7 separate regions of the Homo sapiens genome follow, and regions 2, 3, 4, 5, 6 and 7 are each linked to region 1. The links are contacts of gene promoters, found by promoter capture Hi-C in blood cells and fetal thymus (Javierre and others, 2016). All regions are on one chromosome and are shown on one strand. Each heading gives the region's core, a stretch centred on a gene start or on the middle of the fragment in contact. The rest is flanking DNA. Distances are from core to core; before and after follow the strand shown.

Evidence for each region. The method cuts DNA at HindIII sites, captures the fragments that hold promoters and counts their contacts. A CHiCAGO score of 5 or more calls a contact.
Region 2: a contact is called between a fragment that was not itself captured here and the fragment with the promoter of CCNE1 in region 1, in 1 of 17 cell types (total CD8 T cells). The highest score is 5.1, in total CD8 T cells.
Region 3: a fragment that was not itself captured here is called in contact with the fragment with the promoter of CCNE1 in region 1 in 2 of 17 cell types (activated CD4 T cells and naive CD4 T cells); the score reaches 5.8 in activated CD4 T cells.
Region 4: a fragment that was not itself captured here is called in contact with the fragment with the promoter of CCNE1 in region 1 in 9 of 17 cell types (total B cells, naive CD4 T cells, non-activated CD4 T cells and 6 more); the score reaches 11.6 in total B cells.
Region 5: a contact is called between a fragment that was not itself captured here and the fragment with the promoter of CCNE1 in region 1, in 1 of 17 cell types (naive CD8 T cells). The highest score is 5.5, in naive CD8 T cells.
Region 6: a contact is called between a fragment that was not itself captured here and the fragment with the promoter of CCNE1 in region 1, in 2 of 17 cell types (naive CD4 T cells and total B cells). The highest score is 5.5, in naive CD4 T cells.
Region 7: a contact is called between a fragment that was not itself captured here and the fragment with the promoter of CCNE1 in region 1, in 2 of 17 cell types (activated CD4 T cells and total B cells). The highest score is 7.0, in activated CD4 T cells.

The regions. Positions count from the first base shown.
Region 1 is chr19:29,810,363-29,813,722 of GRCh38, reverse strand. CCNE1 (cyclin E1) reads right to left here and starts at 1,732. Exons shown (of 12, transcript NM_001238.4): 1 at 1,571-1,732; 2 at 1,145-1,191; 3 at 947-1,034; 4 at 686-754. The coding sequence starts at 1,167. RefSeq lists a silencer at 1,649-2,278. The HindIII fragment of the contact is 7,130 bases long and covers 495-3,360 here.
Region 2 is chr19:29,589,013-29,592,591 of GRCh38, reverse strand. No RefSeq gene overlaps it. Among named protein-coding and RNA genes, the nearest start is that of POP4, 15 kb to the left of the region's middle. The HindIII fragment of the contact is 951 bases long and covers 1,395-2,345 here.
Region 3 is chr19:30,001,990-30,005,637 of GRCh38, reverse strand. URI1 (URI1 prefoldin like chaperone) reads right to left here. Exons shown (of 11, transcript NM_003796.3): 5 at 186-277. Among named protein-coding and RNA genes, the nearest start is that of URI1, 62 kb to the right of the region's middle. RefSeq lists an enhancer at 1,042-1,931. The HindIII fragment of the contact is 467 bases long and covers 2,141-2,607 here.
Region 4 is chr19:29,609,473-29,613,214 of GRCh38, reverse strand. It overlaps POP4 (POP4 ribonuclease P/MRP subunit), which reads right to left. Exons shown (of 7, transcript NM_006627.3): 3 at 2,583-2,806; 4 at 1,276-1,353; 5 at 1,037-1,098. Among named protein-coding and RNA genes, the nearest start is that of POP4, 5.1 kb to the right of the region's middle. RefSeq lists an enhancer at 2,810-3,321. The HindIII fragment of the contact is 1,890 bases long and covers 1,259-3,148 here.
Region 5 is chr19:29,982,241-29,985,949 of GRCh38, reverse strand. It overlaps URI1 (URI1 prefoldin like chaperone), which reads right to left. Exons shown (of 11, transcript NM_003796.3): 3 at 649-727. Among named protein-coding and RNA genes, the nearest start is that of URI1, 42 kb to the right of the region's middle. The HindIII fragment of the contact is 706 bases long and covers 1,124-1,829 here.
Region 6 is chr19:29,962,185-29,965,743 of GRCh38, reverse strand. The region is part of intron 1 of URI1 (URI1 prefoldin like chaperone); the gene reads right to left. Among named protein-coding and RNA genes, the nearest start is that of URI1, 22 kb to the right of the region's middle. The HindIII fragment of the contact is 461 bases long and covers 1,429-1,889 here.
Region 7 is chr19:30,026,537-30,030,174 of GRCh38, reverse strand. No RefSeq gene overlaps it. Among named protein-coding and RNA genes, the nearest start is that of URI1, 86 kb to the right of the region's middle. The HindIII fragment of the contact is 1,517 bases long and covers 652-2,168 here.

The sequences.
Region 1 (3,360 bases), core at 483-2,982:
AGGAACTCCTTAAGGAGAGAAAAGAAAAGCAGTCAAAAAAAAATGTATTGAGACACCACCTATCATTACACTGAATGTTCCACTGATACTCTTGCTGAGGTCAGGCTGAGCTGGGGATCAATGCAGGTAATTGCTGGAGGGGCTATAAGAACTTCCAGGGCCAGAAAGAGGAGAAGAATTTGAAATCTGACCTACAGAAGACGGAGGAGGTCCTTAAACACCATGACAAGAAAAATAGGTGTAGATAGGGGGAAAGTTGTTGCTTATAAACACCCAGGAACCCTCCCCCAGTTCACCAGCTTTTACAGACAAGGCCGAGAGCCCAACTTTGCCCCTGGATGGCACAGGACTCTGGGTTACTTTCTTCCTCTAACTGAGTCTCAGTTTCCTCCTGGGCAGAAGGGGAGGACTGAATACTGTGATGTCCATTCTGGTTCTTCCAGGCTAGGCACATATCTGTAATCTCAGACGGTGCCAGTCAGGAACACCAAGCTTCCTGGAATCCCAGGACTGGCAGAGGCCAGTGCCCACTGACAGGTACAGTGCTGGGCCATATGGGCTGTGGCTGCATTAGAGAAGTTCACTCTCACCAGAGTGTCTCCAGCAAGAGACAAGACAGCATGAAACCCCATGTGACCCAGGGGGAGAAGGACCTCCACAGAGGCCCAACCCCGGGCGGACCTACCTGGCTCCCACACTGGTCCCTCGCCGTCCTGTCGATTTTGGCCATTTCTTCATCTGGATCCTGCAAAAACTAACATGAAGCCACCCCCATGACCCCAAGGAAACACACCAAACAAGACAAAAACAGAGAGAAGAAGAGAAAGCTGATCAGGTTATGAGCTCCGTTCCTGCCCAAGGGACCCCCGCCCCCGTAGGCAGAGCCAAGTCGGGTACCCAGGTGAGATGGGGGGGATGCTCCCCAACCTGTCTCTTTTGTACTCACAACGGTCACGTTTGCCTTCCTCTTCCTGGAGCGAGCCGAGAACTCCGCGCCGCCGTCCTCCTTCATGGTGTCCCGCTCCTTCGCATCCCTGTGGACCCGGGTGGCACCGGGCCGGGTGAGCACCCGCGGCCGCCCCTCCCCCACGCCACCCGTCCCGTCCCGTCCCGTCCCGTCCGGCCCCGCGGCGCGGGCACTCACCGCTCCCTGCGCTCCCTCGGCATGATGGGGCTGCTCCGGCCTGAGGCCTGCGGGGCGGCGCGGGGTGAGGCGGCGGCGGGGTCAGGCCGCGGGCCCAGTACCCCTTCCCCCTTTGCGCGCGGGCGGCCGGGCGAGCCAGGAAGATGGCCGATGGCGGGGTGGCCTGTCACCCGCGACCCGGGCACCCGCCGACCCCCGACCCGGGGTCCCGCCGCCCCCGCCGCCCTCACCGGCCCGTCGCCTCCCGGGGCCCGGGCTGCCTCAGTGTCCCCTCCACCCCACCCCGCCGCGCTCTCAGCACCCTCCCGGGCGCCCCGCGACGCCGCCCGGGGACCCGCGACCCGGCCGCACCCCGCCCCCACCCAGCTCCCCGGCGCGGTCTGGGCCCCAGGAGTCCCTGTCCGCAGCCCGCGGCAGTAGACTCACCAGGGTCTTGTCCGCGGCGGACGGCGCGCTCCAGTCCCGGCAGGCGGCGGCGGCGACGGCAGTGGCGGCGGCGGCGCCGGGAGTCGGCGGGCCGAGCGCGCGGCGGTGGCGGGATCCGCGCCTGCCCCCTACACCGCGCTGGCGGCCGCGCCGGCTGCTCCTGCGCCCGGCTCAGAGCGGGACATTTAAAATCCCTGCGCGCGGAACCGGCCCCGGCCCGCCCTCGCACCGCCCCGCCGCGGCTCCCAGCCCCTCAGCGGCCGCGCGGGACCCAGAGCCCGTCCCGCCCCGTCCCTCGCCCCGCCCCCGGACCCGCCCCTCCACGGCGCCGGCCCGCGAGGCGCAGGGACGGGGAATCAGGGGCGGGGCCGGCGGACAGGGCGGGGCCAAGTGACAGGGCCTGCGCGCCGAGGGCCGGGCGCGGGGCGCGGGGCGCGGGACGCGGGGCGGGGCGGCGGGCGGGACGCGGGAGAAGTCTGGCGCGCGGCGGCGAGGGGCGGGCCGCGGGCGCCGGGGGCGGGGCCGAGCGGCGCTGGAGCGGCAAAAAGCCGCGTGGCTGGCGCGGGTGGAATGTAAACACGGCGGGCGGCGCGGGTTCGGGCCCCGGCAGGGCTGAGCCAAGGGGATGTGTGGGGGGCCTACCCGAGGAGCACCGCCCGCCGTTCCTCCGCGCGCGCTGTCCCGCCAGGCACGCCCTCCCCGCCCCCGAGACGCCGAGTTCCGGGCCCTGAGTCCTGGGCGGGGACATCCCCAAGGTCACCGCGCCTGTGCCTTGGCCTAGAACCAAGGCTTCAGGCCGCGGGGTCTGGGGCTCCCTGGGGGCCGGCTGCTATTCCTGGCCGCCTGTCCATTCATCCGTCAGTGCATTGGGTCGTTCATTCATTCATTCAAGGAATCTGTGAGTTCCTTCCATGCGCCCCTTCCATATGCGCCCCTCCCCCGCAAGCCCTTCCTGGCTCTCTGAAGACCTTTCTGACTCTGGGATTCCCTTGCACCCCATCTCTCACTTAAAGCCTTCCAGTTGAGGCCGGGCGCGGTGGCTCACGCCTTTAATCCCAGCATTGTGGGAGGCCGAGACGGCTGATCCCTTGGGGTGTTCGAGACCAGCCTGGGTAACAGTGAGACCCCCATTTCTACAGAAAAAGAAACAAAAAGCCTTCCAGTTGTTTCGCATAAGGGTCAAATCCACACTCCGTGTCCTAGGCTACAGGCTCCACAGGACCTGACCCTGATCCCCCACCCTCAGACCTCAGGCCTCCTCTCCACAGCTCCTCTGTCCTTTCTCCCTCAAGACTTGTATTTTTTATTGTGGCGGGGGGTGGGGGGTGGCAGGTAGGGATAGGGTCTTGCTATGTTGCTCAGGCTGGTCTCAAACCCATGAGCTCAAGCGATCCTCCCGCCTTGGCCTCCCAAAGTGCTGGGAGCCCAGCCCCTACACAGTCTTGGTGCCTCTCTGTTTCTTGTCTCTCTCCCCACCTTGCCCATCTTGCTCACTGCTGTATCTGTCAGTTCTTGGCATAGTGCCTGGACCAAGGGAGACACTTAAATTGTTTCTGAATGAACATTTGAAAGACAGGCACTGGCCAAGCCCTTGCAGGGCTTACCGGCTAATGAGAGAGACAGGTAAGGAACAGTCATCACCTCAGAGTACCCTCTGTACTCAGCTTCAGGAAGATGTGCGTAAAAGAAGGCTCTGGAATGCTCCCAGGGCCCTTCTTAAGCTAAAGTCTCAGTCCTGTCCCTCACCCTCCCCTAGTGACCGTTTTCTTGAAGTTAGAGCCAGGGTCTTA
Region 2 (3,579 bases), core at 621-3,120, 220 kb after region 1:
ACCAGCAGGATAAAACCTGGAATTCAGGGTTCTCCTATCAGGAGCTGAGACAGATCTGTGATTGTACCCTTTTTGCAAGCTGACAGGTGAGTCTGCCACAGTTTCATGGATGCTGACGGAAGACACAAGGCTCCTGGGTCAGAAACAAAGGGCTTTATTCTCACAGCAAAAGCAGTAGAGTACCAGCATTTTTGTGTACTGATTCTCTGAGTTCTAACTCCCCAGGGCAATGCAGAGGGCTGAGGGAAACTTCCCATGTAGGGGTTTCGTTCCAGGCAAGGAACTCTTAGTGTCCCTTACTTTTTAAATAGTGGGCTGTCAGTGTGCCTGCCCTTTGCAAATCTGTCTCTATCTTCCAAAGCTGTTCACTGTATAAATAGCCTTGAAAAGATAGTCTACCACAAGGGCCAACAGTGCCTCTGCTCATGAGATATGCAGAAATGTGAGACACTTATGAATTATCTACCAACATCCCCATGGCTTGTGCCCCAACCTTATGTCTCGTCACTCCATCTTACACTTCATGCTGGGTCATGACAGACTCCTTGTCACCTCTGTCTCTCTGGGCTGTTTGTTCATGAAGACTCAACAACTTGGATTATCCTTTCTTCCTTTCCAGCCACTCCCTGCACACCCTTTGAAATTCCCTCTGTGGAAAGCTTTCCCCATTAGACCATGAACCCCTTGAGGTTCCTGTGCCCTGAGGGGAGGTTGTGGTATATTTTCCCTGAACAAAGATCCCTTTCTCAGTTCTCCAAGACCATTTAGTCAATGACACACTAACCAATCCTGGGTGAATTCAGATTTAAGTGTAGCTGATCTTTCTGCATGAACATCTTGCTTAGCCGAATGAAAGCCTCTTGGGGACCGGGGCTCTGTGTTGGACACCTCGGCAGAGTGGCAGGCAGGTAGAGGACACATGTAAAGTCCTTGCTGATCAGCAGGTGGCTGGAAGCCTGTGGCTTAGCAGGGACAGTGAGTTGGCTGAGCAGACATGTGCTGCCCATCCGTGCTGCAGTGAGGTCCCTCCTGGATGTGGAGGCTGCTTGCTGGACCCAATTTCCTGAAATCAGTTGCATTGACTTGTGGGCTTTTTTTGCAAGTAACTGTTGTCTCTGCAAGAAGCAGTCCCCGAATCACATCAAATGACTTGAGATCTGGGTTGAGATAGTTTCTGTTAATTAAAAAGCTGTATTTCTCATCTTGAGTTGAGGAAGGAAATTTCTGGGAGAAAGAAGCACAGCTGTGCTCCCAGGATTTCTCTCATCCAGAAAGACAGAAATTCAAGTGAATCTAGTAAGTGTCCATGCAGCATTTACAGTGTGTGGGGATATTAGGGACATAGACATAGGAAGAATGATTAATTACAACCTGGTCCCTGCCTTCAGGAAGCTTCCGCCCAGCAGGGTGAGATCAGGGCAGTGAGTGAGAGCAAGTCTTTCAAGTACCGGGGGATAATGAGGAGACAAGACTTGTTCGCCTGCATCTGGAAGTGGAGTGTTACCATTTATTACTGCACAACCAATTACCCTAAAATGTAGTGGCTTAAAAGGACATTTCCTATCTCAGTTTCTGCAGGTCAGGAAGTTGGGAATGGCTTAACTGAGTAGTCCTGCCTCAGGGTTTTCCAACTTGCAGTCCACATGTCAGCCAGAGGTTTGTTCATCTGTAGGCTTGGCTGTGGGTGCAGCATCCAGTCCCAGGATGGCCCCTACACAGGGATGTGGGTAGGAGTCCTAAGTTCCTTGCCATGATTTGAGGATGGTTTTGAGTATATCTTCAGCTGGCTTCTCCAGAGTGGATGATCCAAGAGCTAGCAAGGCAGGAGCTGCAGTGTTTTTCATGAACGACTCTCCAAAGACACCACAATTTCTGCAATGTTCTATTGTTGCATGAGCCAGTCCTACTCCTTGTGGGAGAGGACCACAATACCAAGAGGCAGGGGTCACTGGGGACCGTTTTGGAGGTGGCTACTGCATGGCTGTCTCCTGCTAGCAAAAGGATACAGGGGTGGAGAACAGAGACCTCAATTCCCCCATGTCTGTTCTCCCTCCTGAACAAACTAGCAGCCTCTGCAAAAACTACTTTGGAAAGCGCTGCTTCAGGCCCCAGGCAGCAGGGAGCACTCTGAGACTGCCCTGAAGACATTGCTGGTGCGGCTTGCAAAAGCAGGATGCTCTGTTTCAAAGGGCTTTCCTGGCTGAGGGGCAAGGGAGGCGGCAGGAGGCCTCTGGAGCCTGCTCCCACTGTGACTACTTGCGGTTCTCCACTTTGCACCTTCAGAGTGGATGCTTCCCCTGGTCTTCATCTAAGCTGCAGTTCATGTCTCTAAAAAATACAAAGCTTTTGCTTTGCTGACCTAGATTGGTCTCAGCAAAAGCAAAGATGCATTTTCTCCCAGGGCCCAAGGCAGTCAGCCCTTAAATGAAGTTTATTTAACAAAGGGAATAGTTCCAGTTGAATTTTCGAGATGGAACTGTGGGTTCATTTGCAGCAACATGGAAGGTCGAGGGGAAGCTAATGAAAATGGTTTTTCTCAGCATACATGATTGATATGGTTTGGCTGTGTCCCCACCCAAATCTCATCTTGAGTTGTAGTTCCCATAATCCCCACATGTTGTGGGAGGGACTCGGTGGGAGGTAATTTAATCAAGGGGCCGGTTTCCCCCATGCTATTCTTGTGATACTGAGTGAGTTCTCACAAGGTCTGATGATTTTATAAGGGGCTTCCCCCTTCACTCAGCTCTTATTCTTCTCTCTCCTGCTGCCATGTGAAGGACATGTTTGCTTCCCCTTCCACCACGATTGTAAGTTTCCTGAGGCCTCCCCAGCCATGTGGAACTGTGAGTCAATTAAACCTCTTTCCTTTATAAATTACCCAGTCTCAGGCAGTTCTTTACAGCAGTGTTAGAACAGACTAATATAATGATGCACAAGTGTTTCCAGAATGACATGTACATCTTCCAAGCTTGAGCCTCGCCATGTCTCTCCTTCACACAGATACCCTGTGAAGATGAAATTCCAAGACAAAAGCACATTTGGGCCAAGTTTCCTTGGGTCTGTGTGCTCCAATCCTGGGGCAGTCCTCCCACAGCTGTTGCCTTGGGGTGGGCCCCTGCAGATTTCTTGCAGGGGACATCAGTTTGGCCTCCTGGCATCTGCTTCCTCTCCAATAATAGCTTGTCTGATTTTTGCGGGAGGATCTGCCCATCCCACTCTCAGCCCAGATGCATCTGGTGAGGCTTATTCCATCCTGGGCTCACCAAGTCAGCACACTCAGTCTCTCTCACCCTGGTGATTGGTTCAGGATGATCCATGCAGGGCATCTGTACCTGTACCTTGTACCCCCTGGTACACAGAGCCAGGATGGATCAACTCTGGAACTTTTCTTTTCTAGAGATGGGTCTCACTCTATCACCCACGTTGGAGTGTGGTGGTACAATCAATGGCTCACTGCAGCCTTAATCTCCCGGGCTAAAGTGATCCTCCCACCTCAGACTCTCAAGTAGCTAGGATCACAGGTGGGCACCACGACACCTGGCTAACCTCTTTATTTTTAGTAGAGATGGGGACTTGCTA
Region 3 (3,648 bases), core at 1,125-3,624, 190 kb before region 1:
AAAAAAAAAGCGTATTAACAACACAAATCTCCAGCATACTAAAATTATCCAAAGAGCAACTATTCAACCTAAGATGTCTGAAAGCATTTTAAACTTCAATTAATTTGTTCCTTGGCTGTAAGATAGCTTCATATTTCTTTGAAAATATTTTCTAAAAATATAGAAGACTAAAAACAAATACTCACATCGCTCATTTTCTGCAAATCTTCTGTGAATTCAACTCTGGATTCAAAATTTTTCATCACTTTTTTTAAGTCATCTATTGTTTTTCTTACATCTGAAACAATGAACACAACCATTATGTAAAGCATGGCATATATACGACCTGTAGGAATATTTTAACTGTAGTCCTATCACACTACAAGTATGATTTAACAGTAATGCTTTTCAAAAATCTTACACTATTTTCCTTTTAAATGGACTTTTAATAAGTTATACTGTGTATTTTTGTGCTATATATATAGCACATTACTTTGTTCGTAATAAAATGTCTAACATATTTTCTCTCTATTACAGAGTACAGAACTAGATTGTAGATGCTGCCTGGTGCTACCAGGTTTCTATAGGATAAATATCTAGTTGGATCATCACATAAAATGCAGTATTTCATAACAGTTTTGTTGCACAGGTAATTTTTGTCCAGCTGGATAATGCATAGATAACATAGATTAAGACAAGTTATTCTGTTCCTGAACAGAAAATATTCCTAAATTAGATGACTGAAAATACAACACATTTTTTACGGTATATAATCAACCATTTCCAAGTTAAACTGCATAACAACACAACACACAGCCTTTCAACATCTCCTAAATACCACCCTCTATTAACCTATTTGAGGAAAAATTTTAATTTGAGAATAGACACAAACATTTCTCTACCCAATACTGGACAAATGCAACAAGTAATTCATGTTTCTGTAATCAGAGTAGAAATCTCTGCTAAGCAGTAAATGGCACCATCTAAAAAATACATGGGGTTTCTAACTATAATTATATGCTGAACAATATCCTACTTTTCTCCAAATACAGAATTTTTATGGCCAAGCGCTGATAAAGAATAATAGACAGTGATATGATACCTCCTCCCCCAGATGCTCTGTGATTTCCTACTGTTTTACAACAGGCACTCAATCAGTAAGCAGATCAGAAGAGGATGGAGGAGAAAAGTACATAGTTCTTTCTCTACCAATGATGAATGCAGGTCTGGCAAAGGTCTAAGCAGTTAAAATATCTTTTAAAAGAATGAAAATAAGGAAGGGAGTTAAAAGTGAAATATCACCACATATGAAGGGCTTCTCGAGAGTGGCACATGTTCTCCGATACGGCTCTCATGCTATGCAATGCTATTTTAAATAAAACACAATCACTTATGCTCTAGCCATGAATGGGTTACAAAAAAAAGACTGCATTAACAAAATGAAAATTACGGTGTAAACAGTTCATAAAATCTCACAGCCCTGATGTCGCTCTAGATCATTAAATTTCTGCAACAATTAGACCTTTTCTCACGGCAGCAAATTGGACCGGTTGCCATGGCAAATCTGAGCCCTTAAGTCATATATCTTTGATTGCAGAAAGGTCAGACTCAGACAGCCTAATAACTCAAGGAGCTGTTTGACAGATTTCATCCGAGCATGGTCACATAACAGCATAAAACTATGTCGGCAGTTGTTAAAAGCAGGGGGTCAGGGAAAAGGTTAAGGTTATGGAATGTTTTTGCTTCAGTAAACTCAGTCAGATAATGTGTCTAACCAGCTTTAGATCTAAAGAACATTATTTTAGGTAGGAGGTCAAATCAATAACTTTTTTCAAGAAGACTGGAAAATATTAAAAATGGCAGGTAGGTAAGCTAAGTACATTTTTAAAAGTCTATCCACATATAAATACTGTGCAACTAAGCTAAAGGTATCAGTGAAAGCCTTGGGTTGTCAATGTGTAAAGAATTGATTGTTCACTGATGTTATAGGAGTTACTTTCAATCAACTATTGTTGACTTTAAAAAAAATTCATCATAACTCACGCATGTAAGAAAAAGTTGTGTGAATATTCCATTTAAGAAACAAAGTGTTTTGGAAATAGGGTAATTATGAAAAACTGAAATACGATTGCACAGTTCCATTTTTAAATTCAAGAAAGCTTTCTGAATCATACATTAATATAAACCACTATCACAAGGTTAAGAAATCAGATCTCAAAAGCATATACTTTATATCAGAATCTCAGAAATACCACAAACTGATAAGCACCAACACCGTCACATACACATTATATATGCAGATATATATCTCTATTAAATTATCATAAGTCCTATGTCCTAGAGCAACAAAAAATTAGATAGCTATACAGAAAATTTAAGACAAGACAAAAGAAAGCTGGGCAACCGCAAGGCAAACGAACCTGGTGCTCACAATAACATAAAATACAGCAGAATGGTAAGCACCTATTTCGATTTTGTACAAAGTAAATAACAAGTCTAAATTCGTATCTACAGGTTGTTTCAAAAGAACAACAGTTAAAAAAGCAGAATGAGAATTTAATTCCATTTCTTTCTATAACTCTGAGATTTAACATTAGAAACCATGCTATTACATTTTTCACTAAAGCTTTTGTACTCTATTCTCCAAAAATTTATTTTAAGAGGTGAAATATACATGTCACTAAAAATGGATCATTTAAACAGACTCAATCAATTTTAACGCTCCAAACATGGCTAAGTTGAAATCTAATTAAGCAAAATTTCAAACCACACTGAAATTATAGCAAATAACACTACTGAGAGAAAAAGAAATATACTTTGTGATATAGACAATATCTGTATTCATTTTAATCTCAAACATTTTAGTTACCAATTATTATAGAAAAAAGAAAACAAATTCAATGGGATCAAAGAAATAGCTGTGAAAATGTACAAAAGACAGTTCTCCACAGATACTTCCCCCCACCCCAAAAAATAAAAACTAAAATTGAAGAAAAAAATTAGTAATTTGAAGGACAGAAGATTGTTTTCAAACACAGGTTATTTTAACTAAAAATCAGAAGTTAAATTTTCTAGGATTTCAGAAGTATAGAATGAGGTATAGTTTTTATTTATTTAGCTGACAAAACCAGGCTGCAGGTTAAATGTGCAGCAAGCATAAGCTAATATTTTAAAGTCTTCACTAATTCAGAATCTTTGTCCAGAACTGGCTGAAATCCTTTGAGTTAGCTATGAAAAAGGAGACTTAAAGCAAATTAACAGTGCAAATTCCAAAGACATGTTTAAACCAAAAAAGAAAATTTAAAACCTCATAAGAACTTAAGCAGTCATTTTCACCTAAAGATAAACGATATGCCTACTCACTAAGTAAGACCAAATATTTAGAAACATTTAGTTAACAGTTTGTAGAATTGTATATATTTGAAAGGAACAGAAATGCAGATGTAATAAAAATTATTTGCAAAACACTAATAAAAGTTATGAACATCATTCGTGAAAGGAGTCTTTTTTACTTAGCCATATATTCATATGTACTGAATAGTATGAAGCCTGTAAATATGCAATTCTCTACTGAATCCTTTGTGACCACTCTATTCTCAACCTCGTTTCTTTTGTGTGCTGGAATTTTTAAATATTCTTTCGACAGCTTCAACAGGACGTGCCCCCTGG
Region 4 (3,742 bases), core at 954-3,453, 200 kb after region 1:
CAGCAACGAGTGCTATGAAGAGTAGGGACAGGGCAATGTGTGGAGGGTCATGGTTTGCAATGGTAGACCCTGAGGGGAGTGGCATTGGAGCAGGGCTGAACAATGAGAAGCTGGACTGTGCACACACAGGAGAACTCCCGGGTAGAGGTAAGGAGCAGAGGCGAAGCCCTGAGGCAGGGCAGGAGGAAGGCAGTGTGGGAGGCCTGCTGCCCCAGGGAGCGGGGAGGCCTTAGACCACAGCAAGGAGGCAGGTTTACTCCCATACGATGGGACGCTGCCAGAAGACTTGAAGCAGGGAAGGAACGTGCTCTGATTTCTACGTAACCGGCACTCTGGCTGCCTGGTGCGGTGAGGAGCTGTGTCTGAGGTAATCTGGGGAATGACAGTGGCTGAATTTAAGTAGTAGGATGTTCCGAAGGATTCGAGGAGATTAGGAAAGAAGAAACATAGACACTGTTTAGGTTTTTGGTCTGAACAACCAGTGTAAATAACTGAGTAATTAACTGAGATGGAAAAGACCAGGAGGGGTTGCTGTGAGGAGAATCGGTGGCAGCTTTGGCTATGTAAAGTCTGAGATGCCCCCTGAACATCCAGGTGGCTATGTCAAGTGGGCAGCTGGATGCCTGAGCCTGGAGTTCAGGGGACAGGCCTACGCTGGAGATGTCACCTTGGGGGCTGTCAGGTGTAGCTGACATTTGAAACCACAGCATTGGATGAAAGGGATTCTGTGTTCAAGATCCCAGGCCGTGGGTGAGTGCTCGCAGCCACTGTGCCCTTTAGGGTACCAACAGGGGTCCCTGTGTGGAGAAGGTACACAGAGACCACTTAGGGTGTGTCCAGCAAATGGCCGGACTGGCTAAGACAGCCAGCGAGAAGCATCTCCCACCCTTAGCGTGGGGATGATGGTGACTGGGGGCCATCTCAGGGAATCCACACGGTAAAGAGTGTGTCCAACAGAACACACGCCCTGGGTCTCCACAGAGTGACAGAGTGAACCTCTGGATGGCCATGTGCTACACGCTCTTAGGTAAATTACCTGAAATAATAGCCCCGTGAAGATCTGCCTTTAAGAGCTTGGCCTGAATCATCTGTGGCTGCCTGCAGGGTAAACAGAAGCCCTTGGTTTACATCATGATAAAAAGTTCCAAAAGAAGCAACTAGGTCTTTAACCGTCTGCAGCCAGGCAATACCAACGCTGGTTCCTGAAGCCGCATTTACAATGATCAGAGGCTTGAGATCCACCCCAAAGAGCAAAGCTTCAGGAATGCAACTTACGTGTCTGGCTTGAGCCCACTGCACAGGTCCCTGATGTACTGTTTCCAGAGTTCATGGAGAGGGAGGAAAAGGCTGTATCTGCAGCAAAGTCAGAAACAGGGAAAAAGTTAGACAACATGAGCTTGGGATGACAATGTCCAAATAGCACAGAGCTTGACTTGATGCCAACAACTGCAACCTGGGATCATTAGGAACTATGTGCAAATCCGACGATGAGCAATTGAGCTGATAACCGAGACCAAGAACCTACACCTCTCTAACCTCAGTTTCCTCATTGGTAGGACCACACCAGCCCAGGGCGGTGTCCACCTGGACTTCTTTTCATGAGAGAGAAATAAACGTGAGTCTTGTTGAAGCTACTGTTATTTTGAGGTTTTCTGTTACGTGAAATTGAACCTAGTAAGCCCCCAGTAAAGCAGGGGTTGCTGGTTGTCACGCAGGTCCTCATGTGAGGCAGCAGGCTGGTCTGGAAGGTGGGCAAGCAAGTGGTGGGGAGAAGAAGCGGGGAGCAGGGGCAAGGACCCCAACAGCGTTCTTCTGGGCCATTATCTCCAGTCTTGATATCCTGTGGGGAATCCGTTACCACAAAGCCTTAGGTTAGAGAAATGAGGACCTTAAGCTCAAACCCAACCTGGGCTCCACCCGGGAGGCAAACCCTGGGAGGCAGCAGCCCCTTCTCCACCTGAGGCCCAGCTGATCTCCTGAGTGGGGCCGGGAACAGCATGGCATACTTTAAGCGTCTTCTGGAGCGTGGGAGGCTATTTGGCCGTTGATCTCCAAGCAAAAGCCTACAGACAGCCCCAAGACACCCACACTCAGACCCGTCACCAAGGAGGGATGGCGGGTCGGCTGGAGGAAGACATCCTCCCACAGGACAGGACAGTGATGCATTCCTTTTGGAAACTTCTGAAACGTGTGGGCAACATCTTGCTTTGGCAATGAAACCCGAGTGGGTGACTGTCTGGCTCTATCAAAAGCTACAAAGTAATACACACTAAAAACATATCAGTTCCTCTTTTCTGTCTAACAAAGCCGAAGGACAAACAGCCTGTTGCCATGGGCAACAGATGTACTTGCACGGGTCTTACTCCTGAAGGTGAGGAGAGAGGCCAGACAATGAGTCCTGTCTCACCCGCCTCGCTGAACACAGCCCAGATTGGTAAAGGAAGGCTGCCCTCTTGTGGCAGACGACAGAGAGGCCCCCTTAGCTTAGGTGGAGCCAGGCTGCCTCCCCAGCCACTCAGCCAAGTTCACACACCAAGAAGGGTAAGCACCGCGGGCAGAAAGACGTGGGGAGCTCGGGTTACCTCTGCTGCTCTGGTTTAATGTCAAAGAGCCGCAGCTCCCTCCTTTGCCTGGCAGAGAGGCCTTTGGCTTTCTTCTTCTTCTCCTTGCGCTTGTGGCGGGTGAAGTACTCCAGGACCACCGCCTTGCGCTGCAGCTGGTCCTCGCGGGCCTGCGGGCTCATGCGGGGCGTGCTGCGCTTCAGGAAGGCCCTCACGAAGGCCTCGGCCCGCTGTGCTCCTGAAGGCTGCAGGCGGACAAGGGGGTGCGGCGCTCACTGCTCCGGTCTGGGCAGCCCAGGATCCCAGGCATCCCGCCCGCCATTCCCGGCAGCTACTGCAAGAGCAAATGGGGCCCATCCCTTTACCTACTGAGGCTCTCAACCTGCTCATCCGCCATGCATCTGCTACCCACAGCTGCCGAGATGTAAGTCACACTCACACACCAATTCATGACCGTTTGTCACACACAACAGCGTGTCAAACGCTCACTTCCTGCTCTGGCCCTGCTTTTCTGAGGTTATTCTGAAAGGACCAAAACCTTTCTATCTTGAAGAAGAATTCTCTCATCCTTGGCAGAAGAGAAAGCTTGAGAAATGTATAACAAATATATTCAACCAGGCATGACCAGATGAAAGTGAGCTCAGAGTAGCACTAAGCTATGGAGGAAGTGATCCTAACACTACAGAAAACAGCAAAACTAGGGCTCCAGGGTCGGCCAAGCCTCAGGGCGCAGGGACCCTGACACTGTGCCCTTAGGACAATACTCCTTAACCGGGTTTCCAGCTCTGTGGGCATGGTGTGGCCACTCTCCAAAAGGTCCGCTCCCGCCCCGCAGACCATCACTTGGAGGAAGGTACCGTCGAGAGCATCTCAGGCCCCAGGCTCGCTCTCTCTGAAGGGTGTCACTGAGAGCAGGGCGTCAACTTACCATGAATGAGCACAGGCTCTTAGAGAGGACTTCTGGGAAAAATGACTGTCGTAATTGTGTGCAATTCTCAAACAAACAAACAAACAAACAAACAAACAAAGAAACCCTCCAAGCTCACTACCTCTCAGGTTGGAGTTCCAATAACGGATTCCTCATTTGGTGGCAATGCCACTGCCCTCATGCCTGCCACAGACCTGGGCAGTTCTCTCTCCTGAGGGCCTGTCTCCTGGCTGGGCTGTTTCCTGAGCTCTTT
Region 5 (3,709 bases), core at 227-2,726, 170 kb before region 1:
AACATTGTCAATGCAAAATACTTTTGATAAAGAAAACTAAAAATTATTTTCAATAAAGTAGACACTTTTGCAAAGCAGGAATTAGTAAACAAATAGCTTTAATGGATCTATCTAGCTATATATACAAAATACTTGGACTAGTATAAAAGAACAAAGTCTTCATAAGAAAGAACATTCATGCAATGAAAGGCTCTAATCCAGGGCTCATGAACAGATCACTATGTCGATGTGAAGATCATTAAAACAAAAATTAGCAGCACGTTTTTATATAAAAATCAATGTCCTAAGGTTTAATTCTGTGAATTACAAAACATTATGGCCTATTCCTGCTCTGGCTAACAAGAAACGACTTAGTACCATATTTCTGTCATAATTACATTTTTTATATAGTAAGTTTCCATTTGAAATATGTCCAATTTTGTGCTAATATTTATGTCATTTGTGTCACCATATATATTCTGAAAAAAAAAGGTAAATACCAACAATTACTACAATTACTGTGTTCTTATAAAGTAAAACAAAACAAATCTTCCTTGCTACATAGTTACCTTGGACACAGTCCATCAGCCTGACATTCTGTGAACCGACACATAGTTAATATGTTTACAAGAAACAACTATTACTTTAAAAGAAACACACCAAACATACCATTATATTATAAGACAATTTATCAGGCAAGGTGCTGAGTCTTTCTCGAAGGGCATTATAGTCATTATCTACCTTCTTCCTGTTGACAGAAAACACCAAATACACACATTATTAACGATTTTTCTTTTTTTTTTTTTTTTTTTTTTTTTTTTTTTTTTTTTTTTTTTTTTTTTTTTTTTTTTGAGACAGAGTGTCGCTCCGTCGCCCAGGCTAAAGTGCAGTGGCGTGATCTCGGCTCACTGCACCCTCCACCTCCCGGGTTCAAGCAATTCTCCTGCCTCAGCCTCCTGAGTAGCTGGGATTACAAGTGTGCGCCACCATGCAAGGCTAGTTTTTGTATTTTCAGTAGAGAGGAGGTTTCACCATGTTGGTCAGGCTGGTCTTGAACTCCTGACCTCATGATCCTCCCACTTCAGCCTCCTGAAGTGCTAGAGTTACAGGCGTGAGCCACTGCACCTGGCCTCACTCAAAAGCTTTATTAAATCTCTTCTTTCAGTCGTGTGTGGTGGCTCACGCCTGTAATCCCAGCAATTTGGGAGGCCCAGTAGGCCAGGTATCATAAAACAAGCTAATCAAAAACATAATTTTAGCAAATTCAAGATTAATGTGGTTTTATTTTTAGTTTTAAAATCCTGTTTTTATACAGTTTAGCAATGGCATTATTCTACCATACATTTATTGAAGAATTAAGACTCTTCAGGGACTCTGGCATTTAGAAGCAGAATACTCAAATTTTGAGAATTACTGTTTTTTAAGATACAAGACTATCTGGACCAAATAAAATGTGAAAATTAAGGGAGACAGTAAAAGAGGGCCTGATATTTGGAGAGAAGAAGGGACTCAAGATGAAAAAAGAAGAGATTTATTTATTTTAAGACAGAGTCTCTCTCTGTTGCCCAGGCTGGAGTGCAGTGGCACAATCTCAGCTCACTGCAACCTCCACCTCCTGGGTTCAAGTGATTCCCCTGCCTTAGCCTCCTGAGTAGCTGAGACTACAGACGCATGACACCACGCCCAGCTAATTTTTGTATCTTCCATAGAGATTAGGTTTCTTCGCCACGTTGGCCAGGCTGGTCTCGAACTCCTGGCTTCAAGCGATCCCCCCACCGCAGCCTCCCAAAGTGCTGGGATTACAGGCATGAGCCACCACACCCGGCCGAAAGAAGAGATTTAATAAAGCTTTTGAGTGAATAGATACTGGCTGTGAAGTTGAAATCATGAACATGAAATTTGATCAGATGCTTTAGTCCTCATCAGAAAACCTTAGGCTGAAAAATGCATCATCAGCTCTTCAATTATTCATAATAATGTGATTAAGGTAAGAGAGAATCAACTGGGGGTAGAAGAAATTAAGTAGAGATAATACAAAAGGCGTTTCAATTTGGCCTAGGAGTCTGTTTCTTGTTACATCAAACAGAGCTACCAAATAAGTAATTTCAAACAACCAAAAGGTATATGTAACTCTGTAGGGGCAGAGATGATCGTATTTCCATGCTATGGGCCTTACTCAGCTCTTAACACCTGCTGGAAATGAACAGCCCTTCTTTTTGAGTAATACCAGGCAGCAGCCTATGCCAAGATGCCCGTCAAACTTTCTCTGGAGACTGGGTTTCCAAAGGGTTCCCTGCTAAGATACAGGCTGCAAGCAAAACTACAGCACTGAATTTTTTTTAAGCAGAAGGATGTTGTCAGTTTTTAAAAATAACAGAAACAAAAATTCACCAACTCAGCAAGTAATTTAAAAGAACATGTAGACATTGTCAAATTGAAATCAGGATAAACTGCAATGTAGGTAACAACTCTCCAGATAATATAAATGACAAACATCACAGAATTGGTTTCAGCTTACTGCTTAGTTCCCTGAAGCAACAGTAGCATAATTAATAAAAAAAAATTAGCTCAGTCTTAAGATCTTAAGGAATTTCACATATATATTATTTTACATAACCTATAATAAATGTCACTTATCAGTATTTTTCTCTTACAGAAGACAAAGTAGAAGGAAGATGGAAAAACCACATAGCAAGAAGCCAGATCTCCTCTATCAAGATGAGGTAAGCAATGAGTTTAACCTAGCTAGGTCTTCTGACCTGCATTCCTTCATGAAAGCTTTCTCATTTTCTAGTGTGCAACTGCTTTATAACTTTCCCCAAAAAAAATCCTTTTCTATAAATAAATACGAAACATGTTTTATTCTTTTGTTTAAGGCAAAAATCCTCCTCCTGGAAAATTTTTATATGGATAAAATGGCAAAAAAACTTCATGCACAAGGCTATGTACCAGAAAGAACATGGCTTTGAAGTCAGACCAGAGAGTGAATCCCAAGCTCTACATGCAATTTACACAAATTCACCTTAGTCTTAGTAACTTCAATGGCAAAATTGGACTAATACTTATCTCACAGGTTCAACAGAATTAAATATAAAAGGTCTAACACACTGCCCAGCATGGAGCAACTACTATTTTGGTTCCAAAACTCAAAACTCATTTTTTTCATGAAGCATCAAAAAACATCAATTCCAAAACTTTCAAGAAAGACTATTACCTACAAGATTTCACTAACCAATTTGATACAAATAGTATAACTTGCTGAAAGACAGTACAGCTGAATGTAACCATTCAGGGGCTTTGGAAACAGGACTGGTGTGAGCAATCAATGGGAGAATGTCTCCATAGGACTGACTGGTACAGTGCCTAGACAGTCAACACTCACTATTAATAACATAACACTAACAGCTTATTTATGTTTCAGATAAGTAATTCTGCAAATGCTCAAGGACTAAATACACCAGCCTAGATATCTAAATATTTCTATGAATATTAAGAAGCTAGTATTAAAGTCACCATTCAATAAGTCTTATTTTGGTAACAATGCTTAGGAGAAAAAAAAACAACTTCCTCACAAAAAACATCTATTTTGTACATTAAAAGAACAGTACGTTCAAAAACAGGCAATACCAGAGATCAATGTCAATATTTCAAGTCAAATATAATCAGTTTTCAACTTATTAATAATTCTCTCTGGAATAAAAATGCGGACATACTGGAGAGCAGTTTAAGA
Region 6 (3,559 bases), core at 410-2,909, 150 kb before region 1:
CCTATTGGAAATATTTTAAGAGTGGTGACACATACATTCAGTAATACTTCTAAGAATGAAGACGTTTACATGTTTGGAGGGTTTTGGGGGTGACTTGAACTAGAGATCCAGGAACTCTAACTGTTCTGGCTGAAAGCTCCATGAGGTAGGGCCATGTAGTAAACATAACATTTGCAATGAAACATATGAATATTCAAAATGTAATAAATGCCTCACCCATATAAGTTCCAGTTTTGTCAACAATGAATATGCCATAAACTTAAGAATAACTGTGTTTTCAGTGCTTTTCAGGCTTCCGAACTGCAGATAAGAAATTGTGACCTACATTTCTGAATCTGAAATACTGCCTGAATTCCACCTTGCATGCCCACTGTTTTATCAGAGATTATCAATCATTTCTTCTCCATTCACATGCCTTCCTCGTAGAAACCCTGCCCTTCTCCCATAAAGAATGGGTAAAGAATCCCATTTCTCCGTCTGTAGCCACAATAAAGGGAGAGGATAGATACCTGCTGCTAACTGGACCAACCTCATTTACTTTGGACATCAGAGCCTGAGGTGATTACAGATTCTGGTCCTAAAAGAAAGACCACTATAGGATCTGCACAAGCTAACCAACCATCTAAAGCAGCTGGTACAGGAAACAACATAAATGTACAAGAAAACAAAACACAGAGACCCAAAAAACTCCTACCCTTGACTCCCTCCTGACTTCTTACAGTAAATTATTTCATAATTTCCTAAGCATCTGTATGATTTGCAACTAAGAAAACTTTAGAGTAGCAAACTTGCCACACAGGTTAGGAGGAGAATGTGCCTGTGAAAGGCTCAAAGGAAACAAACAGTCCACTGAAGAGTAAATACAAGTAGAAGAAAAAAAAAAAAAAACAGGAAAATATACTCCCAGGTAACAAAAAAGTCAAATTAAAGCAATCTTATTTAGCATTAATTAAAGAAGTACATTTTTATTTTAAACACCACTGGCCGGGTGTGGTGGCTCACACCTGTAATCCCAGCACTTTGGGAGGCCGAGACAGGTGGATCACCTAAGATCAGGAGTTTGAGATCAGCCTGGCCAAGATGGTGAAGCCCTATCTCTACGAAAAATACAAAAAATTGGCCAGGCGTTGTGGCAGGCGCCTGTAATCCCAGCTACTCAGGAGGCTGAGGCAGGAAAATCAAACCCGGAAAGCAGAGGTTGCAGTGAGCCAAGGTCACGCCATTGCACTCCAGCCTGGGCAACGAGAGCAAAACTCCGTCTCAAAAAAAAAAAAAAAAACAAAACAAAAAACAAAAACAAAAGAAACCACCACTGTCAGTGAGACTGTAGTAAAAATCTCAAATCACACTAAATCACTGCAAGTAGCTATGTAAATTCAAAACTCAGTCTAGACTTGCGTAATACCTCCAAGTAGGACAAAAAAAGCTTGTAACTCTCAGAAAGTAGAAGAGACAGACAGATAAATACAAAAATTATCTCTTTAAAGGCACCCAAGAGCTGCCAAAGCAGTGAGGACAAGAGGGACCAAGGATTCAGAGAGGGGAGAACTGTGGAGAAGTGAGCTGATCATCTGAAGCCACTTTTTTCTCAGACAACAGGAGGCACAGGCAAGAGGCTGAGAATTATGTTGGGCCCTGAGGAGACAGCCATGGCTAGCAGAAAGAAACAAGCAGAACTTGCGCAGTCTGACAAGGCTATATGGTAGTAAAATGAGAGCACAAGAGAGGTCTTAAGCATACAACTGCTTTCCCTCCCATGGTATCTGTCAAATTCTGAGCTGCGAAGGCCAAAAAGATAAACTAAAACTCTGAAAAGCAGAGCTCAGGATCAAACAAAAATTAGTTCAGAAGCCTCCAAGGAAATATGGTGTAGTGAGCAAAATCAAGCTTCCAGATGAAAGCCTGAAGAAACCAGAAGCAGCAGATGGCTTACTAAAACAACAACCTGGCCTTCACTCCACCCAGCACCTGCCCGGAGTAAGGTGACCAGCTCCCACTGCATCTGCTTCAGTAGAAGAAAGGACGCGCCTTTTCCAGAGGAAGTTATCACCTTCAGGAATATCTACAATCTTTAAAGACACAATCCCAGGATTTAGTCAAAAATAACTAGGATGCCAAGAAACAGGATCATATGACCAAAAGTCAAAAGAAAAAATATATAAAACAGAACCAAACACACATGCAATCTAGATACTGGTGTTAACAAACATAATGATTAATATGTTCAAGGAAATAGAGGAAAAGATAAAAGGAATATATTTTAAAAATAGCAATTTTCACTAGAGAACTGAAATCTACAGGAAGAAACCAATGAAAATTGTACAACTGAAGAACCAAAAATTAAAATAAATGGCATTAAAAGAAGATTAAACAGCAGAAATCAGGATTTTTGAACTTGACAGGTCAAAAGAAAACACCAAATTAAAGCCCAGAGATTCAAAAATAAAACATGGAAAATACAGAAAAGACCAATAAGAGACATGTGAAACACAGTGTAAGTGCAAGATCCAGAAAGGGAAGAGAGAATGCAGCAGAAGCAATATTGAAAAGATCTTGAATTCTGGATTTTCTAAAACTGATATCAAAGTATCAGCCGATAGACTGAAGAAACTCCAAGAATCCCAAGCAAGAGAAGCACAAAGAAAATTTCAAGGCACAACATAGTTAACAGTGATGAAAACCAAAGAAAAAGGGAAAACTTTATGTGCAGCTGGGGGTAGGCGGAGGAGGCACAGGGGAGATTCACAGCCTTCAAAGGAGTGACAAGACTTAGAGCTAGAGCTAACTTCAACATCAATGACAGAAAGTGAAAGATAACAGAGTATCTTGAAATGCTGGAAAAAATAACTGAAAATCTATAGTGACATACACAGCAAATAGATCCTCCAACATGAAGGAAAAAATAACATTTTCAACAGAAACAGAATTCTGCACCAGCAGACTTTCATTAAAAGAAATACGGTTTATTAAACTAGACATGTTGTTAATAAAATGTCTTATCAAAAAAATTATTAAACTAGATATTGTTATTAAATAAGTGTGATCGGTTAAAAAAAAGACAGCAACAACAACAAAAAGGACTCTTCAGAGTAATATAAATGCAGAAAGAATTGAAGAGTAAAGGTACAGGATAAAAAAAAAAAAAGATGGGTAAAGATAAATCAATATTGACCACACAGAACAATTAAATACAGTGTTGTGGTGTTTAAAATACGTAGAATTAAAATGCATGGGAGCAATCATGCAAGAGGTGGGCTGGATAAATGAATGAATGCTATGATCTCTAGAGACACCAGAGACTTACTTAGTGAAAAGGAATTGTAAAAAAAAAAAAAAAAAAAGATACTATAAATACATATTATATTTAGTACTAAACCATAAGTACAGTATAAAAGTAGTAAAAAATAATGTATCACAAACAAGTTAATAGGAGGAAATAACAATACAAAATGTTTGATCCAAAGGAAGGAAAAAAAAAAAGCAGAGAAAAAAGAACATAAAAGTACATCAATTAGAACTATAATGGGGAACCATTTGACACTCCAGTAATGAGGATGGT
Region 7 (3,638 bases), core at 161-2,660, 220 kb before region 1:
GGCATATTAGGGTATGAACATGCTGAGAGACCAGAGAAGGCTCTAACTATATACATACCCCCAGGGAAGACTCGTAAACTGCATAAATTTTCAGTGTGTTCCTCAAACAAAACAGAGACTTTGACAAAGGATGAAAGTCTTACCAAAACAAGATGCCTAAGTACAATCTCTGACCAGTCACCAGCTGATCACTAAGATATATTGATCCAAGGTGACCCATAAGTAGTCAAACATAACTGAGGAGAGACATCAGAGGCCACACGCTGTAGAGAAAAACTCATTATTAATCTTGGCCAAGTCATAAAACAAACAAAAAAAGGGACAATAACCCCTGGCAGGAGAGTATCAGAAATAAATGCTGTTACAATGTATTATTTAAAATGTCCAGTTTTAAACAGGAAAGTATGGCTTATCTAGTATAAAAAAAAAAATACTCAGTATAAACAGAAGCTATTTCCAAGGGTTCCCAAATGTTGGACTTAACAGACAGACTTCAAAGCAGCCAATAAAAATACATCTTCAAAGAACAAAAGAAAACCGTGTTTAATCAAAGCATGAAAACAATGACTAATCAGAGAACACTTAATAAAGAGATCAACATTTTTTAAAAAATGGAAATTCTGGAGTTGAAAAGTAACTAAAGTGAAAGCTTCATTAGAGGGACAACAGCAAACTTGAATGCAGAAGGAAGAATCAGTGAACTCAAAGATAAATCAATACAAATTACACAATCTGAAGAACAGAAGTGAGAATGAAAAATGAACCAAGTAGGAAATCTGTGGGTTACAATCAATACCAACATATGCATAATGGGAATCCCAGAAGAAAAGAATAGTGAGGGCCATACAAGTTTTGACATCTTTTGAAGAGTCATAGAAGTTTTTAATGTCTGAAAACATTCCAAATTTAGTAAGAAGTATAAATCTGTATATCCAAGTATCTCAATAAAATCCAAGTAGAATAAACATTAAAATATCCACACCGATACACATCAAAATCTTGAAAGCAGCAAGAGAAAAATGGACTTATCATGCACAGGGGAACCCCAGTAAAATTAGCAGCTGACTTCTCAAAAGAAACAATGAAGGCCAGAATTAAGTGGTATAACATACTCTACTGTCAAACAAGAATTCTAAATCCAGTAAAACTATCCTTCAAAAAAGAGGACAAAAATAAAGATCTTCCCAGATAGACAAAGAGAATTTGTTGCCACCAAAATTTTTTTTACAAGATATGCTAAAGCAAGTACTTCAGGCTGAAAGGAAACACCACCAGATGGTAACTTGAATCCACATAAAAAATTAAAGTACCAGTAAAAGTAATTATGTAGGCAAATGTAAAAAATAGAAAAAATACTCTTTTTAAGTTTTCTTCTCTTACTTAAAAGATAATTGCATGGAAAAATAATGAACCCATATAGTTATAAATAATAAACCTGTACTGTTATAAAATATATTACAATAATAGGACAAAGGAAAAAGAGACTAGAGCTATGCTGAAGCAAAGTCTGCCAGAATTAAGTTAGTATTATTCTGACGCAGGTTATAATGTTACAATGCATCCTATAAACTCTAGAGCAACCACTATAAAATAACTCATAAAAAAGAGTAAAGCTCTCTTCTACTATGTGAGGACACAGGAGGCCATCTGCAGCCCAGGAAGAGAGCCCTCGGCAGGAACCAAATCAGCTGCTAACCTTGACTTCCCAGTTTCCACAAATGTAAGAAATAAATTTGTGGGTTTAAAAAAAAAAAAAGTACAGTTTCTTTTTGTAAAGGAATTCAAAGTTTATACTAAAAGATTTATTTAACATACACAAAAAAAGGTAACCAAGGAGGAACAGAGGAACAAAAAAGACATGACATATAAAAAATGACTAACAAAATGGCATGAGCTATTGATATGTAAATGAGCCATATCAACAATTACATGAATTAACACACATTTCAATAAAAAGACAGGCTGGCAAAATAGACTTTTTAAAAACAAAATTCAACCACATGCTGCCCACAAGATACAAATGCTAAAAAGGATGAAAAAAGAGATACCACATAAGCATAACCATAACCAAGGTGGAGTGGTCATAATCATATCAGACAAAACTGACATAGGCTTTAAAATTAAAATGTTACTAGAGAAAAAAGGGACATTTTGTAATAATAAAAGCTTCAATTAATCAGAAGATATGACAATGACAAACATATATGTACCTAACAACAGAGAAAAAAATGCATGAAACAAAAACTAACAGAACTTGAAAGGTAGGACTATTTAACAATAATAGTGTAAGGCCTCAGTATCCCACTCTCAATAACGGATAGCACAAGTAGACAAAAAATCAGCAAGAATACAGAAGACAACAATAACAATGACCTTGACATGACATCAACAGAACACTCCATAAAACAACAGAATACGTATTCTTTTGAAGCACACACAGGAGAACATATGCTACCCATTTTTAAAAAGTCCTAATGAATTTTTAAAAACTAAAGACATAATAAATGTTTTCTCCAGACACAACACAATTAAAGCAGGAACCAACAGAAAGAAACTTGAGAAACCCACTAATATTTGGAAATTAAACAATACATATTACAGTAACCCATGAGTCAAAAAAGACATCTCAAGAGAAATTAGAAAATATTTTTAACTACAGAAAAATTAAAACAAATCAAATGTCACTGGATGCAGCTAAGGGTTAGTGCCTAGAGGTCAATTTATATCTTTAAACACCTACATTAGAAGACAGTAGTCTCAAATCAATAGATTAACACCTTTAAAAACTATAAAAGGCAAGGAAGAAGAAAGGAAATAATAAAGATTAAAGTAAAAGTCACTGGAATAGAAAACTAGAGGAAAATCAACAAAATCAAAAAGTTTCTCTGAAAAGGTCAATAAAACTGACAGACCTATAGTTAGAATTACAAAAAATATAGGACAAAAATTAGCAAAATCAGAAGGAAATCACAGGCCAGGCACGGTGCCTCACACATGCAATACCAGCACTTTGGGAGGCCAAGGCAGGAGGATCACTTGAGCCTAGGAGTTTGAAACCAGCCTGGACAACATAGTGAGACCCTGTCTCTACAAAAAAAGTAAAATAAAAAGGAAATTGCTGCCAACTTAAGAAATTAAATGGATTATAAAGGAATACTTTGGACAACTTTATGATGACAAATGCAATAATTTACATGAAATGGACAAATTCCTACAAAGAGTCAAATTATCAAATGGACTCAAGAAGAAATATAAAACTTAAATAGACTTAAAATAAGAACTTTAATAGCAATTACAAATCTTCACACAAAGAAAACTGCAGGCCCAATGGTTTCACTGATGAATTCTATCAAACATTTAAAGAAGAAATAGTACTAGTCCTTCACAAATTCATCCAGAAGAGTATACTTCCCATCTGATTTTGTGAGGTCAATATTATCCTTATATAAAAACCAAACAAAGACATCACAAAAATAGAACATGACAGATCAATATCCCTCATGAATATATACACAAATATTCTCAACAAAACATCAGCAAACCAAATTCAGTAACATATAAAAAGGATCACGCACATTAAAAATGGGCTTTATCCCAGGAATGCAGGATTGGTTTAATCAGAAAATTAATTTAATCAG